Regions from separate parts of the Homo sapiens genome. Here regions 1 and 2 are each linked to region 3. Evidence: promoter capture Hi-C in 16 types of primary human blood cells and fetal thymus (Javierre and others, 2016). All regions are on one chromosome and are shown on one strand. Each heading gives the region's core, a stretch centred on a gene start or on the middle of the fragment in contact. The rest is flanking DNA. Distances are from core to core; before and after follow the strand shown. Region 1 has its middle 9.7 kb from the start of ZBTB40. Region 2 has its middle 61 kb from the start of ZBTB40. Region 3 holds the start of C1QA (complement C1q A chain).

Region 1 (4,955 bases), core at 1,933-4,432, 200 kb after region 3:
AGGCATTCTTCCCTTACCAGTCAAGTGTTCCTAGAAGGTCATCTATTAACACCAGTTAAACTCCACCATTTTGCCTCTTAGTGCACATGCTTGAACCCACTCGCCCAACTCCTGAGATCTTATTGGGAAGCTGCTGATCACCAGTTTCAGGCTTTTTCTATCTATTGGGAGACTGCCTTTCCTTGGTAACACTGACCAATTATTATTTTATTTTATTTTGAGACGGAGTCTCTCTCTGTCGCCCAGGCTGGAGTGGCATGATCTCAGTTCACTGCAACCTCTGACTCCTGGGATCAAGTGATTCTCCTGACTCAGCCTCCCAAGTAGCTAGGACTACAGGTGCCCACCACCACGCCCAGCTAATTTTTATATATATATATTTTTAGTAGAGATGAGTTTTCGCATGTTTGCCAGGCTGGTCTCGAACTCCTGACCTCAAGTGATCCACTTGCCGTGGCCTCCCAAAGTGCTGGGATTACAGGCATGAGCCACCGCACCCAGCGACCAATTGTTATTTTAGAGAGACAGTGTAACAACCACCTGACCATTACCTGATGGTCACCTAACATTCCTGGCGGAGGAGTCCCTCTCCTGCCCCGCTTATGTCTGACTACCTACTGGAACAAAGGGACCCCCATTCTTCACCAAGGGAATCCCAAAGAAACCTGAAAAACTAGTTCAAGCCATGATGGGAAGGGAGGTTGGACATGCCTAGTTATACACCCTACCTTTGGAGTTTATACACTACTGATCAGCATTAACATTAAAATAGAGATCATAAGACTGACAAAACAGACTGTAGCAATAAGATACCAAATTCCAACCTGACATCACCTGACAGATAGCAGGCCCTGAAGGAAATCAAAGTATTTTACCCCAAAATATATTTCTTTGACATATTTTGAAATGGCCTTGCAAAGCCGTCTCTTGCGGGGGAAATTTGCATTCTATAGAGAATCTCCTTCCCTTTCTAGGTCTTTTCCGGATCCAGGAGAGATTTAAGTAAGAGTCTGACACCTTTTAAGATCCGAAAAGAGACATTTACCATCTATTCTCTCTGAAGCCTGCTACTTAGGGGGTTCATGTGCATAACAAGAACAACTACTCTTATCTTAACTCAAGCATTTCTTTCTGCTGACTTCAACTCTTTAGATAAAGCTTAACTCTTTCAACCAATTGCTAACCAGAAACTCTTTGAATCCACCTATCACCTGTAAGGCCCTTGCCCCTGCTTTGAGATGTTCTGCCTTTCTGGGCTGAAATAATGTATATCTTACATATATTGATTTATGTCTTTGCCTGTGGCTTCTGTCTCCCTAAAATGAATAAACCAAACTGTAATCTGATCACCTTGGGCACATGTTCTGAGGACCTTTTGAGACTACCCCGGGCCATGGTCACTCATATTTGGCTCAGAAAAACCTCTTTATATATTTTATAGTATTTGGCTTTTTTAATCAAAAAACCCCAGCAGGTTAGATTCTGTTTAAATAATTTTCGTTGAGACTTTGTTCGAGAGAGAACGTAACGTTCTGGAGTATTTTGAAATGATTATTTTTTCTTCTTCCCCTGTTGGAAGCATCAGGAGATTTTTCTCAGATATTCACTCTGAGAACCTGGCCAGAGCTCCAGGAGGTAAAACTCACAAAAGTGTGGGAGCCTTCAGATTAAATACAACTGGAAGATGTAGTAATTATAAATATTTATGCACCCACTTACACACCATCAAAATATGTAAAGCAAAAATGGACGGAATTGAAGGGAGAATGATATAGTTCTTCAATACAGTTGGAGACTTTGCTACCCCACTCTCAACAATGGATAGAACAACCATATAGGAGATAAGAACACAATAAACCAACTAGATCTTGTTAGGGACAAGCTGCCCCAGGACTCCCCACCTCCACCCAATGCAGCTGACCCTTACCCTGAATACTCTGCAGCTGCATTCCTGGACCTTTATCTAGGTGCTACAGCAAGGTCACCAGACTTGCTTACAGCCCTCCGGGTGGCATGGGGGAGGTCACAAGAAACATGGATAAACCTAAGTTACACCCTCTTATAAATTCCTATATTGTAAGCAGTTCTCAAGATGATATGTGGTAAAGTTAACCGACAAACAACCCCAGGGTCTCTCTCCCCCATATAAACCCATCATTTTGTAAGCTCAGGGCTGCCTCCTCTGACTGTGGCGACAAACAACCCCAGGGTCTCTCTCCCCCATATAAACCCATCATTTTGTAAGCTCAGGGCTGCCTCCTCTGACTGTGGCAGAGCAGCCCAGCAGGTTAATAAACTTTCTTGCCTGACCTTGGGTCTCTCTCTCTCTTGTCCTTTCTCTCGGCTAACCTTACAGATCTAACAGAAATATACAGAACAGTCTACACACCACTGCACACACATTCTTCTCATGTGCACATGAGACATTTTCCAGGATAGATTATATGTTAGGCCAAAAAGTAAGTCTCAATAGACTTAAAAAGATAAAGATCATATAAAGTATCTTCTCCTACCATAATGGAATGAAGTTAGAAGTCACTAATAGAAGTAAAAGTGGAAAATGCACAAATTTGTGGAGATTAAACAACGCATTCTTAAACAACCAATGAATCAAAGAAAACATTAGAAGAGAAATTAAAAAATACTTAGAGAAGAATGAAAATGAAAACACAATATACCCAAACTTGTGTAATGTAGAAAAAGCAGTTGTTAAGAGGTAAATTTATGTGTATAAATGCTTACATTAAAAAACAAGAAAGATCTAAAATCAACAACTTACCTTCACAACTTTAGGAACTAGAAAAAGAAGAACAAACTAAACTCAAAGCTAGCAAAGAAAGCAAATAATAATGGCCAGGCACAGTGGCTCATGTCTGTAATGCCAGCATTTTGGGAGGGTGAGGTGGGCAGATCATCTGAGGTCAGGAGTTTGAGACCAGCCTGGCCAACATGGTGAAACCCTGTCTCTACCAAAAATACAAAAATTAGCCGGGTGCAGTGGTTTAGGCCTGTAATCTCAGCTACTTGGGAGGCTGAGGTAGGAGAATCACTTGAACACAGGAGGTGGAGGTTGCAGTGAGCTGAGATCATGCCACTGCACTGCACTCCAACCTGGGTGACAGAATGAGACTCTGTCTCAAAAAAAAAAAAAAAAAAAAAAGAAAGCAAATAATAAAGACTGAAGCAGAGAGAAACAAGAGAGAACAGAAAAACAATAGGAAAAAATAAACTGAAACTTGGTTCTTTGAAAAGAACAAAATTGACAAATCTTTAGCTAGACAGACTAAGAATAAAAGAGGAGACTCAAGGACATTACTACTAATTCTAGAGAAATAAAATGGAGTATAAGAGAGTACTACAAACAATTGTATACCAACAAATTGGATAACCTAGATGAAATGTATAAATTCCCAGAAACACAAAACCTACCAAGATGAAATCACAAAGAAATAGAAAATCTGAACACACCTATAATCAGTAAGGCGATTGAATCAGTAATCAAAAATATCCTGACAAAGAAAAGCCCTGGACCAAATGGCTTTACAGGTGAATTTACCAAACATGAAAAGAACAACTAATACCAATTATTTTCAGAATTTTCCAAAAAATTGAGGAGGAGGAAACACTTCCCAACTCATTCTATGAAGCCAGCATTACCCTGATACCAAAGCCAGACAAGGGCACTACAAGAAAAAGAAAACTATAGACTAATATCCATTATGAACATTAATATAAAAATATTTCTCAAAATACTAGCAAACCAAATTCAGCAGCATAGTAAAAGGATTATACACAATGACCAAGTGAGATTTACTCCTGGAATGCAAGGATGGTTCAACATACAAAGCTCAATGTAATATACCACATTAACAGAATGAAGGAAAGAAAACCACATGATTATCTCAGTTGATCATCTAAAAAAGCATTTGACAAAACATAACACCCTTTCATGATTAAAAAAAAAACACTCAACAAGCTAGGAATGAAAGGAACTACCTCAACACAATAAAAGCCATATATAAAAAATGCACAGCAAACCTCATACTCAGTGGTGAAAGACTGAAAGCTCTTCCTTAGGATCAGGAACAAGACAAGGATCTCCACTTTTACCACTTTTGTTCAAAATAGTATTAGAAGTTTTACTTGTTTTGTTTGTGTTTTGGAGACCGGGCTCTTGCTATTTTTCCCAGGCTGGACTCAAACTTCTGGGCTCAAGCAATTCACTTGCCTCAGCCTCCCACATAGCTGGGACTACAGGCATGCCACCTCATCCAGCTTAGTATTAGAAGTTTTAGTCAGAGCAATTAGGCAAGAAGAAAAAAATAAAAGGCATTCAAATTGGAAAGGAAGAAGTAAAATTACCTCTATTTGCAGATGATATAATCTTACATATAGAAAACCGTAAAGATTCCACCAAAAAAACCTGTTAGAGCTAATAAATGAATTTAACAAAGTGGCAGGATACAAAGTCAACACACAAAAATCAGTTGTATTTCTATATATTAACAATGAACATCTGAAAAGGAAATTACAAAAACAGTTCCATTTACAATAGTGTCAAAGAGAATAAAATAATTTGGAATTAACCAAGGAGGTGAAAGACTTTACAATGGATACTATAAAACATTACTGAAAGAAATTAAAGAAGACATAAATAAATGGAAACACGTCCCATGTTAATGGATTGGAAGGCTTAGTATTGCTAAGATGTTAATATTACCAAAAGCTATCTATGGATTCAATACAAAACACCAATGACATTTTTTGCAAGAATAGAAAAAGAACACATTCTAACATTTATATGGAATATTAATGGTCTCCAAATAGCCAAAACAATCTTAAAAAAGAACAATGCTGGAGGACTCATGCTTCCTCATTTCAAAACTTACTACAGAGCTACAGTAATCAAAACAGTGTGGTACTGGCATAAAGAAAGACACAAACACTAATGGAGT
Region 2 (4,358 bases), core at 984-3,483, 250 kb after region 3:
GGGGAAGTAACCCCAGTGACCACTGCAATTATCCACGTCCTTAGCCTACCCCCTCCTGGAGAAGGAAGCACTAAAACAGAATGGAAGGCAAGCGCCCCCACTCGGGGATTAGAATCCATCATTCTGCTGAGTTCTGTGTCCTTGGCCTGCTGGACTCCTGACCCCCACCCTGTTTGCCTGGTCCTCAGTCTGATGCTCAACCCACCTTCCTGGCTCCCAGCCGTCAGCTTGCTCCTGGCTGCAGAGCCCTTGTCCCTCCAGCTCTTGCCTCCTTGCCTTGGGTTCATTGCACGCCCAGAACATCCCACAGCTCTGTGCAGGCCCAGGCCCCTGTTTGACTGTCCCCACAGCCTCTAAGGATGCCTGCCTGGCTTCTCTGGGCCCTGGGCATTGCTCCTTCTTCCACATTCCACGATTTTTTTTTTAAGTCAGAGTCTCCACTTTGGGAGGCTGAGGCGGGCGGATCACGAGGTCAGGAGTTCGAGACCAGCCTGGCCAACATGGTGAAACCCTGTCTCTACTAAAAATACAAAAAAAAAAAAAATTAGCCAGGCATGGTGGCGGGTGCCTATAATCCCAGCTACTCTGGAGGCTGAGGCAGAAGAATCGCTTGAACCCAAGAGGCGGAGGTTGCAGTGAGCCGAGATCTGGCCACTGCACTCCAGCCTAAGTGACAGAGCGAGATTCCATCTCAAAAAAAAAAAAGTTAGAGTCTTGCCCTGTGCCCAGGCTGGAGTGCAGAGGAACGATCACTGTAGCCTGCAACTCCTGGGTTCAAGTGATCCTCCCACCTAAGCCTCCAGAGTTGCTGGGATTACAGACAGGCTGAGCCACCGTACTCACCTCTCCACAACTTTTCTTACGCACCTGCTACAAGTATTATTGGTTGTTAATCACCACTGTTTGTCTGGACTCTGTGCCCAGCATTGGGTTAAGCATTTTAAATTATTAGCTCATTCATCTTTACAGCCACTCTTTGAAAGAGGAAGGCATGATTCTTACCCCATCTTACTGACCGAGGAAAGAGAGGCTTAGAGAGGTTAAGTAACTTGCCCCAGGTCACACAGCCAGGAAAGGATGGAGCCGACTCCAAGTCTAGCTCCTTTTTTTTTGCGACAGAGTCTCGCTCTATGGCCCAGGCGGAGTGCAGCGGCACGATCTCGGCTCACTGCAACCTGCGCCTCCCAGGTTCAAGTGATTCCCCTGCCTCAGCCTCCCGAGTAGCTGGGACTACAGGTGCCCGCCACCACGCCCGGCTAATTTTTTGTATTTTTAGTAGAGATGGGGTTTCACCGTGGTCTTGATCTCCTGACCTCGTGATCCGCCCGCCTCGGCCTCCCAAAGTGCTGGGTTACAAGCGTGAGCCACCGCGCCCGGCCCCAAGTCTAGCTCTTAACCAGTGTGTTATCCTGCTCCTCACTGGTGTAGAAGGCCACAGGTAATGACAATCCAGATTCTGGGGTCAATGTGGGTGTGAGGAGAGATGCAGAAGATGGAGATACCCGCAATGGATGATTCATCTCAACACAGGTGGTGGGGGAGCCCAGCTTTGCAATGCCCAGCTCATTAGGTGAGCGCCAGCCCTGGGATCTGGGCCACTAGGGCTGGAAGCAGCTCAGCCAGCAGCGCCAGGCTGCTAGAGAGGTTTTTCCCCCGACCGTGAGCTTATTATTACTCTTTATTTGGTGCTTTGGGACGGGCCTCCCATCCCAGCCTCGTGGAGAAGCTATGCCTTCCAGCCAGAGGACTGTCAGGACAAGGGCCTACTGGCCCTGGTCCAACCAGGGAAGGAGTTTGAGCTGCTTCTCTCCTGCGCTGTTGGCTGAGATGGAGACCAGCACTCCTGCCGAGAGCTAAGACACCTTGGTCCCTGGGCTCTCTGGAAAGCTGCTGCCCACCTGGCCTCCCATGTTCAGCTTGGCCTGGTCATGTTGGCTGAGCTGGCCTGCAAGATAGAGAATAAATTAACACTTCCATTGTGGGGGAATAAGCCTGCTTTTATTATTTGGTGATGAAATGAAGTATGGAGAAATGTTTAGTTTGGTTACAGGGCTGGCAAGAGAGTGGTGTGGGGGCAGCAGCCATGAACGTGAACAGCCACAGATAGGACAGGAAGAGCAGCATCTGGAGCTGTCCACTGGGCAGGGGGAGCAGTTCTGAGGAAGGGGGCTCTGTGCTGGAGGTCCCAAAGACTGTTTGCTGCTTCTGGAGTGCTGGACTGGGACTAGAGGGAGTGGGCTTCCAACCCTAGCTAGATGCCATCATATGACTTGGGGTAAATCCCTGACCATCACTGGACATTAGCCTCAACATCTGTTAATGAAGGCGTTGGCTGCAATGGCCTCTCAGGGCCTCCCTGGTCACCACTGTCTAGGGTTGGCTCGACTGTGGCCAAATAGAAGCTGTCCCTAATGTTTCTGACACCATCACCAGATGCACGGGGAAAAGCTACATGCTTGCTATTTCAAGAAAGGCGATGCTTAGCTTTAAATTCTATAACTGCTAAGGGGGATTTTCATGCCCAAGCACCACCTTTTCTACCTCGGAGAGGTTGGGGCTTATTTCACTGTGTCCCAACTGGATTGCTGGGAACTTCCGGAGAGCATGGATGGGGTTAGGGGAGGGAGGTGGAGGCTGGAGAGACCCCTAGGGAGGGCAGAGCCAACCCTGTGTGTATGCACGTGTGTGTGTGTTGGGGCAGGAAGGGGGATTAACTGACTTCTGTTAAGGGCTACACTTAAAGGCTCTGATCCAAGCAGGGCTGGTAGTAGGTTTTCAGTGTTGGATACAATGACAAGCCATGGGTCGGCGCCGATGGCCACCACCAATGCCAGGGTCCAGACCCAGGGCAAAGGATGGGTGGCCGGAAGGTGGAGGCAGGACTCCACCCCCTGCAGGTGGTAGCTGGGCACTGTGGTTCTGTGCTTAGGCTACAGATTCAGAAGAAGCAGTTTTGCAGCCTGGCCCCGGCTCCTGCTGACCTATCCTGGGCTGCTGACTTCACTTCTCTGGGCCTTGTTTCCTCATCAGAAAGAGGGGGAAAGTAACAGTTCCGCCTCACAGAGCAGGGGCTAGGATTATGTAAGAGGCTGGGCCATGTGTCTGGTGTACCTGGGCACAGGTGGATGGCTCGTTAGGACAGGAGGCCCATCCAGCAGAGGAGACCTGCAGCCTCTGCCCCACCTCTGGGCTGAGCCAAGTGAATGTGGGGAGGTCTCACCTCTGCCAGCTTCCACTGTGCCTGGGTCCTAGGGACAAAGATATGAAAGTGGACTTTGCGAGTGGCTTAGGCAGCACATAAGACTCTTCTGGGCCTGGCGCGGTGGCTCACGCCTGTAATCCCAGCACTTTGGGAGGCTGAGGTGGGTGGATCACGAGGTCAGGAAATTGAGACCATCCTGGCTGACATGGTGAAACCCCGTCTCTACTAAAAATAAAAAAAAAAAATTAGCTGGGTGTGGTGGCGGGTGCCTGTAGTCCCAGCTACTCGGGAGGCTGAGGCAGGAGAACGGCGTGAACCCGGGAGGCGGAGCTTGCAGTGAGCCAAGAACGCTCCACTGCACTCCAGCCTGGGTGACTGAGCAAGACTCCGTCTCAAAAAAAAAAAAAAAAGACTCTTCTGGAGAAGTTATTAGCAATGCAGATCCCAGCTCCAGTCTCCCCAGGGCTCCCTTTGGTTTGGGACAGACCCAGGAGTCTGCATTATTAACATATGTCCCTGAGGTTTCAGCTGTCTCCTGAGAAACTCTGTGCCAGGTGGTGTCTGTGCCAGCGTAGCTGCCTCTGCCCTTTTATGAGGTAGACCCTGGTGCCGATGCATCTCTGGCTATGAGAGGGGGCAACTGGTAAGCCTGGTGCACCCCAGGTCAATGGCAGGGAGCTGGATTCATTCAGAGCAGCCCAGTCTGGGGCCCTCAGGACTTCTCTGCCAGCTCCTTCTCAGGCTCCTGCCAGCCCAGAGAAGCGGCTCCAGCCCCAACCCAGGCACAAAAACGGGGCTGCTGACAGCCTCCTCCTTCCATGACACGGATGGCCAGGCCCTCCCTCTGCTCCCACAGACACTGCTTTGTCCCCAGGGACTTGTCTGCCTGCAGGGTGGACACACTTCTCCACCTCCCCGCCAGATCTCAATTGGACCAGCCAGTGACTCACAGCCCCACGCAGAACGCTTGGCACCTCCTAGGCGGACGATGCTTGTTGCATTCCCTGGCCCTTAGAGGAGGCAATCAATGACAGGGCGTGATTGGGGGCCACCCACCCACCAAATTATCTCCTTTGTGGATGCCTGAAATTCCACTATTAATACTTCATTCTTTTGGAGGATATTATGGCCTTATCTCAGTTCCACTCTTTAAATA
Region 3 (4,563 bases), core at 1-2,500:
AGACGGACTCCTGATTCTCAGTGCCACCCCAAGCCTTCACCCTGGAGGCCAAGTCAGGCCAAGGTCCAAGGGGCTGGGTCCCGAGGAAGGGTGCTTACCCGGCTCCCCTTGCTCCCCCTTGAGGCCTGGCCGCCCCCGTCTGCCAGGTCTTCCTGCCTCCCCTTTCTTCCCGTCTGGTGCTCGGCACAAGTCCTCGGTCACCATAGAGGCCAGCGATATGGCCAGCACACAGAGCACCAGCCATCCCCGGGGACCCTCCATGATGCCTCTGTGGAGACACGGGAGGGCCTGGGCAGGTTGGACATCACACTCACACCCAGCTCCCACCCTTGAGTCCCATGCACACAATGATATATGCACAGTCCTCCCCAAGTGCACATGCACCCTCTGGGGCTCTCAATGTCCACTCTCAATCCAGCCCCAGGACCCCACGCATATACACAGAACCACAAACTCACACACATCCACACATGCAACAGAGCACACCCACATCTTCACACACTCACACAAACACAGCTCTCATCCACGCACCTACAAAACACAGTAGGCAAACTCAGAAATCCACTATACCCCCCTAGACACACAACTGATACCCAAATAGACCCTGTCCCTCACTTGCACGGACACACACATTCATACACTCCCACAGGTAATCGATTTCATTGAACAAATATGTATTGAGCGCCTGCTCCTTATTTAATTAACACTGGCTCACCCAGATGGTGGAGCTCTGCATACACACAGGAATTCACAAACGCCCAAAGCGACACCTGCTCACTCTTCTGCATGCTCAGCGCCTTTCAGCATCCACCTGAGCATGGGTGACTGGCTGCCCCTACAGTCCCCTCTGCTGGGTCCCACTGCCAGCTCTAGCACCCCAGGCTTTTCCTGGTTTCTTATGTGTTATGGGGCCAGGACCCAGGAACCCTGGTCTTACCCTTCAGTTGTTAGGTCTAACTCATCGCCTCTCACCCTCCCCCAAGCCCTGGCTCAAGGAGTTAAGGTCCCTCCACTCACCCATTCTGGGTCCTGGATCAGTGCTGCACCCCCATCCCTGTCCTAGAATCAGGCACAGTTATTTCCCTCCCTCCCTGCCTCAGCTGCCCAGCCTCCTGGGCCAGCTCCCCTGGGTCCCAGAACTCTGCAGCCCCCTCCCTCTGGGACTCTGGCCTCACCTGCCTCCTGTTGTCAACTCCAACTGGATGCTCCTGCCCTCCGCCCAGGGACCCTGTGGGCTGCCCAGCAGGAGTGGCTCCAGGCTGTGGCCAAGTTTCACATCCCTTCCTACTTCCCCTTCTTCAGACCTGCCCCCTGAACTTCCCCAGTGGCCAGAAGCTCACCAGGGACATTTCAAGCAGACTTCAGCAAGACTGGGACATTGGGCGTCCTGCCCCAGCAACAGCTGGTGTGGGAGTGGGGGCAGTGAGGCCAGTGCCTGTGAGGATGTGGGGTGGAGGCCGTGCAGGGTGAGGTTCTGAGAACCAGCGAAGCACAGAACACCAGAGCGGAAGGAATCTTTAAAAAAATCTGTCCCTTGTAGGACTTTTCATGATTATGAAAGTGACATGCAATTCATTGCCAAAAGCTTGGAAAATACAAAGAAGAAAGAACAGTGCATTGGTGAGAAGGAAGCACAGCAATCTGTTTCTAGACTTGCTGCTTCCTAGTTGCATGTCTTTGGGAAATTACTTGACCTCCTGAGCCCTCAGTTTTATCTGTACACTGGGAACGGGGTCCTATATCATCTGATTATTATAACATTTTAATGACTTGCACATACAAAACACTTGGCACATGGTGAACACTTAGTCACTAGCTTTTGCCAACATTTAAAAAAACAGCAAGTCTAGGTGCTTTGGCTCACGCCTGTAATCCCAGCATTTTGGGAGGTCAAGGCAGGCGGATCACTTGAGGTCAGGAGTTCGAGACCAGCCTGGCCAACATGGTGAAACTCCATCTCTACTAAAAATTTAAAAAATAGCCAGGTGTGGTAGCATGCACCTGTGTAGTCCCAGCTATTTGGGAGGCTGAGCTGGGAGGATTGCTAGAGCCCAGGAGGTTGAGGCTGCAGTGAGCTTTGATCTTACCACTGCACTCCTGCCTGGGAGACAGAACAAGACCCCATCTCAAAAAAAAAAAAAAAAAAAAGAGATGGCAATGGCGGGCCGTCTGGAATGGCTGCTGTCATCACACTGGCTGCAGCAGGGAGGCACGGCCAGGGCTGCATGCTCCATGTAGCCAGTGGGAGCTGGGGACAGTGGGAACCCCGCCCTCCTGGGAACCACTGCAGCTGCCAAACCACAGCTGATCCTGCTTCATGGAGCAGGTGGGGGCCCCCGCCATCCCCCATGCAGCTGCAGCTGCCTAAACTGCAGCTGTGGACCCAGGCATCCCTGCAATCTTGGGGGCCCGGGAAGGCCCCCCGCCCCACCCTTCAGGCTCAGAAGTGTCTGCTCCCACTGCCTGGCTTCTCCCTCCTCTTGGCGCCCACTCTGATCTTAGAGCAAAGTTGGTGCTGAGCCTGGGTGCTGTCGCAGCCTGGCTGGGTGTGGGCATGCTTGGGGCAGTGCTGACACACTAGACCCCTGCTGCCTTGGCCCCCTCTGGACTTTGGGCACTGACTAGCATGGAAGGAAAGCCAAGGGGAAACTGAGGGCAGCTCGGCACTGGCCTGCAGACGCTCCTTGGCATGAACAGCCTGGGCACCATGAACAGCAGCAGGAGACAGACAGGCTCCTGGGTGGAAGGGGATGGGTCCCTGGTGAGGCCCTACCTTCAAGCCAGGGAGGGCCTCAAGGCTGGGGGCCAGGCTGCCAGTCCCACACACCAGAGTGGGAACTTATGGTGTATTTTCTGGGCTTGCCTATAGCCACCCATGGACCAATCAGTATGCACTTCCTCCTCTCTGAGGCTCATGAAAGCTTCAGGCTCAGCCAGAGCTGGGCAGACATTGGATGACCAGCTGCCGAGAGGAGCTACCCGCTCCAGGGCCTCCTCTCTGCTGAGAGCTGCAGAGATGGCAGAACAACTTGCCTGCAGAAAGGAGCTTCCCATTCCAGGGTCTTCCCTCTTCTGAGAGCTGGAAAGTCGACAGGATGACCTGCCTGCAGAGAGGAGCTTCCCATTCCAGGGTCTCCTCTCTGCTAGCAGCTGAACACTCATCAGGACACCCTGGCTGTGGAAAGGAGCTGCCCCCTGAGGGAGGCTCTGCAGGAGGCTGAGCTGTTCTATCGCTCAGTAAAGCTCCTCTTCGTCTTGCTCACTCCCCACTTGTCTGCATACCTCATTCTTCCTGGTTGCAGGATAAGAACTTGGGACCCATCAAATGGTGGGGCTGAAAGAGCTGTAACACAAACAAGGCTGAAACATGCCCCTTGCTTGCCATGATGCAGGTGAAGGGAAGGAAAGAAGAGCTGCGGCCCTCTGGGGAACCCAGACCTGGGAGCTCCCCAAGCTGGAGCTGTGACTCCCTTTTCGGGGCCCTGTGGTTCCTGGCATCTCGAAGCTTCTGGGTGCCACCGTGTTCCCCGGTGCCAGCTGTGGAAGCTGCTTGTGGTGTACTTGGTCTAGCCACAACCTCTCAGAGAGCTGGCGCCCATGCTGGCACCTGGAGCTGCTCACCCCGCTGCAGCAGCCGGCATGTCTGACTGTGTGCAGTGGCCAGACCCCATGTTCACTCACACACCCTTCACTGTTCCATGCCTGACTTGCCCTGGGCAGATGTGGAACCCAGGCTGGTAATGTGAGCTGAGTGCTGCCTGCCAGGAGGAGTGAGTGAAACAAGCCCAGTGGGCCTGAGCAAAACTTGGGCAAAGGTGCCACCAGCCACAGAGGTTTCCGGCCAGAAAATGACACCCCAAAGATCCTGTAACACCATCTCAAAAAAAAACAAAAAACAAAACCCAGCAACAAAAGCCTGTGAATTCTACCATCTAGAGACAATTGCTGCTAGTGTTTGAACAGATCATCTAGCCTTACTCACCTTAACTGATGGGATGCTCATTACCTGTCAGCACGGCACACTGCATCATTGTCAGCTTGGACCCTGAGAATGCTTTTCTTTAGATAGAGAGGCTCTGTCTCTCCCAGACTGGAGACCAATGTGTTCAGGCCTGGGCTGACCACATCTGTCTGCTTCTTCTCATGAGCATGTTTTTGTTTGTTTGTTTGTTTTCTGAAAATTTTGCCAGAGGCAGGAGGAGGAAAAGAGGAGGAGGAGGGAGGAGATAAGGGAAGGCTGTTGAAGTGGGCAGATGAAGGATGGTCTAGAGCCAGGGTTTTTGAGCTTTGGGGACTTCTTTTTCATTTGCAATCTTGTGTGGCATCTGATGTATGTCAAACAGATAAAAATGGGGATACTGGCTTGAAGGGTGGGGGCCCAGAGCTCCCCCTGACAGCCCCTCCCATGCTCCCTGGATTCAGAAAGTTCGTGGAGCTGGAATCTCATCTGCTCAGCCCATACCTAACTCACAGTGTGACCCTGGGCAAGTTATCTCATCTTTCTGAACCCCACTTTCTCCATCTACCAAGATGAGGGAGTGGGTGGGAGGTGGGAAGGCTGCC

What was found. Contacts are between HindIII fragments. The CHiCAGO score rates a contact against its expected background, and 5 or more counts as called.
Region 1: a contact is called between a fragment that was not itself captured here and the fragment with the promoter of C1QA in region 3, in 1 of 17 cell types (endothelial precursors). The highest score is 5.2, in endothelial precursors.
Region 2: a fragment that was not itself captured here is called in contact with the fragment with the promoter of C1QA in region 3 in 2 of 17 cell types (monocytes and endothelial precursors); the score reaches 5.2 in monocytes.

The regions. Positions count from the first base shown.
Region 1 is chr1:22,439,679-22,444,633 of GRCh38, reverse strand. It overlaps a transcript of ZBTB40 not described here. Among named protein-coding and RNA genes, the nearest start is that of ZBTB40, 9.7 kb to the left of the region's middle. RefSeq lists enhancers at 513-1,132, 1,133-1,750. The HindIII fragment of the contact is 4,043 bases long and covers 1,161-4,955 here.
Region 2 is chr1:22,389,053-22,393,410 of GRCh38, reverse strand. No RefSeq gene overlaps it. Among named protein-coding and RNA genes, the nearest start is that of ZBTB40, 61 kb to the left of the region's middle. RefSeq lists enhancers at 2,369-2,869, 2,870-3,370. The HindIII fragment of the contact is 7,111 bases long and covers 1-4,358 here.
Region 3 is chr1:22,633,315-22,637,877 of GRCh38, reverse strand. C1QA (complement C1q A chain) reads right to left here and starts at 1,250. Exons shown (of 3, transcript NM_015991.4): 1 at 1,176-1,250; 2 at 99-268. The coding sequence starts at 261. MIR6127 (microRNA 6127) reads left to right here and starts at 4,512; the gene lies at 4,512-4,563. The HindIII fragment of the contact is 10,061 bases long and covers 1-1,587 here.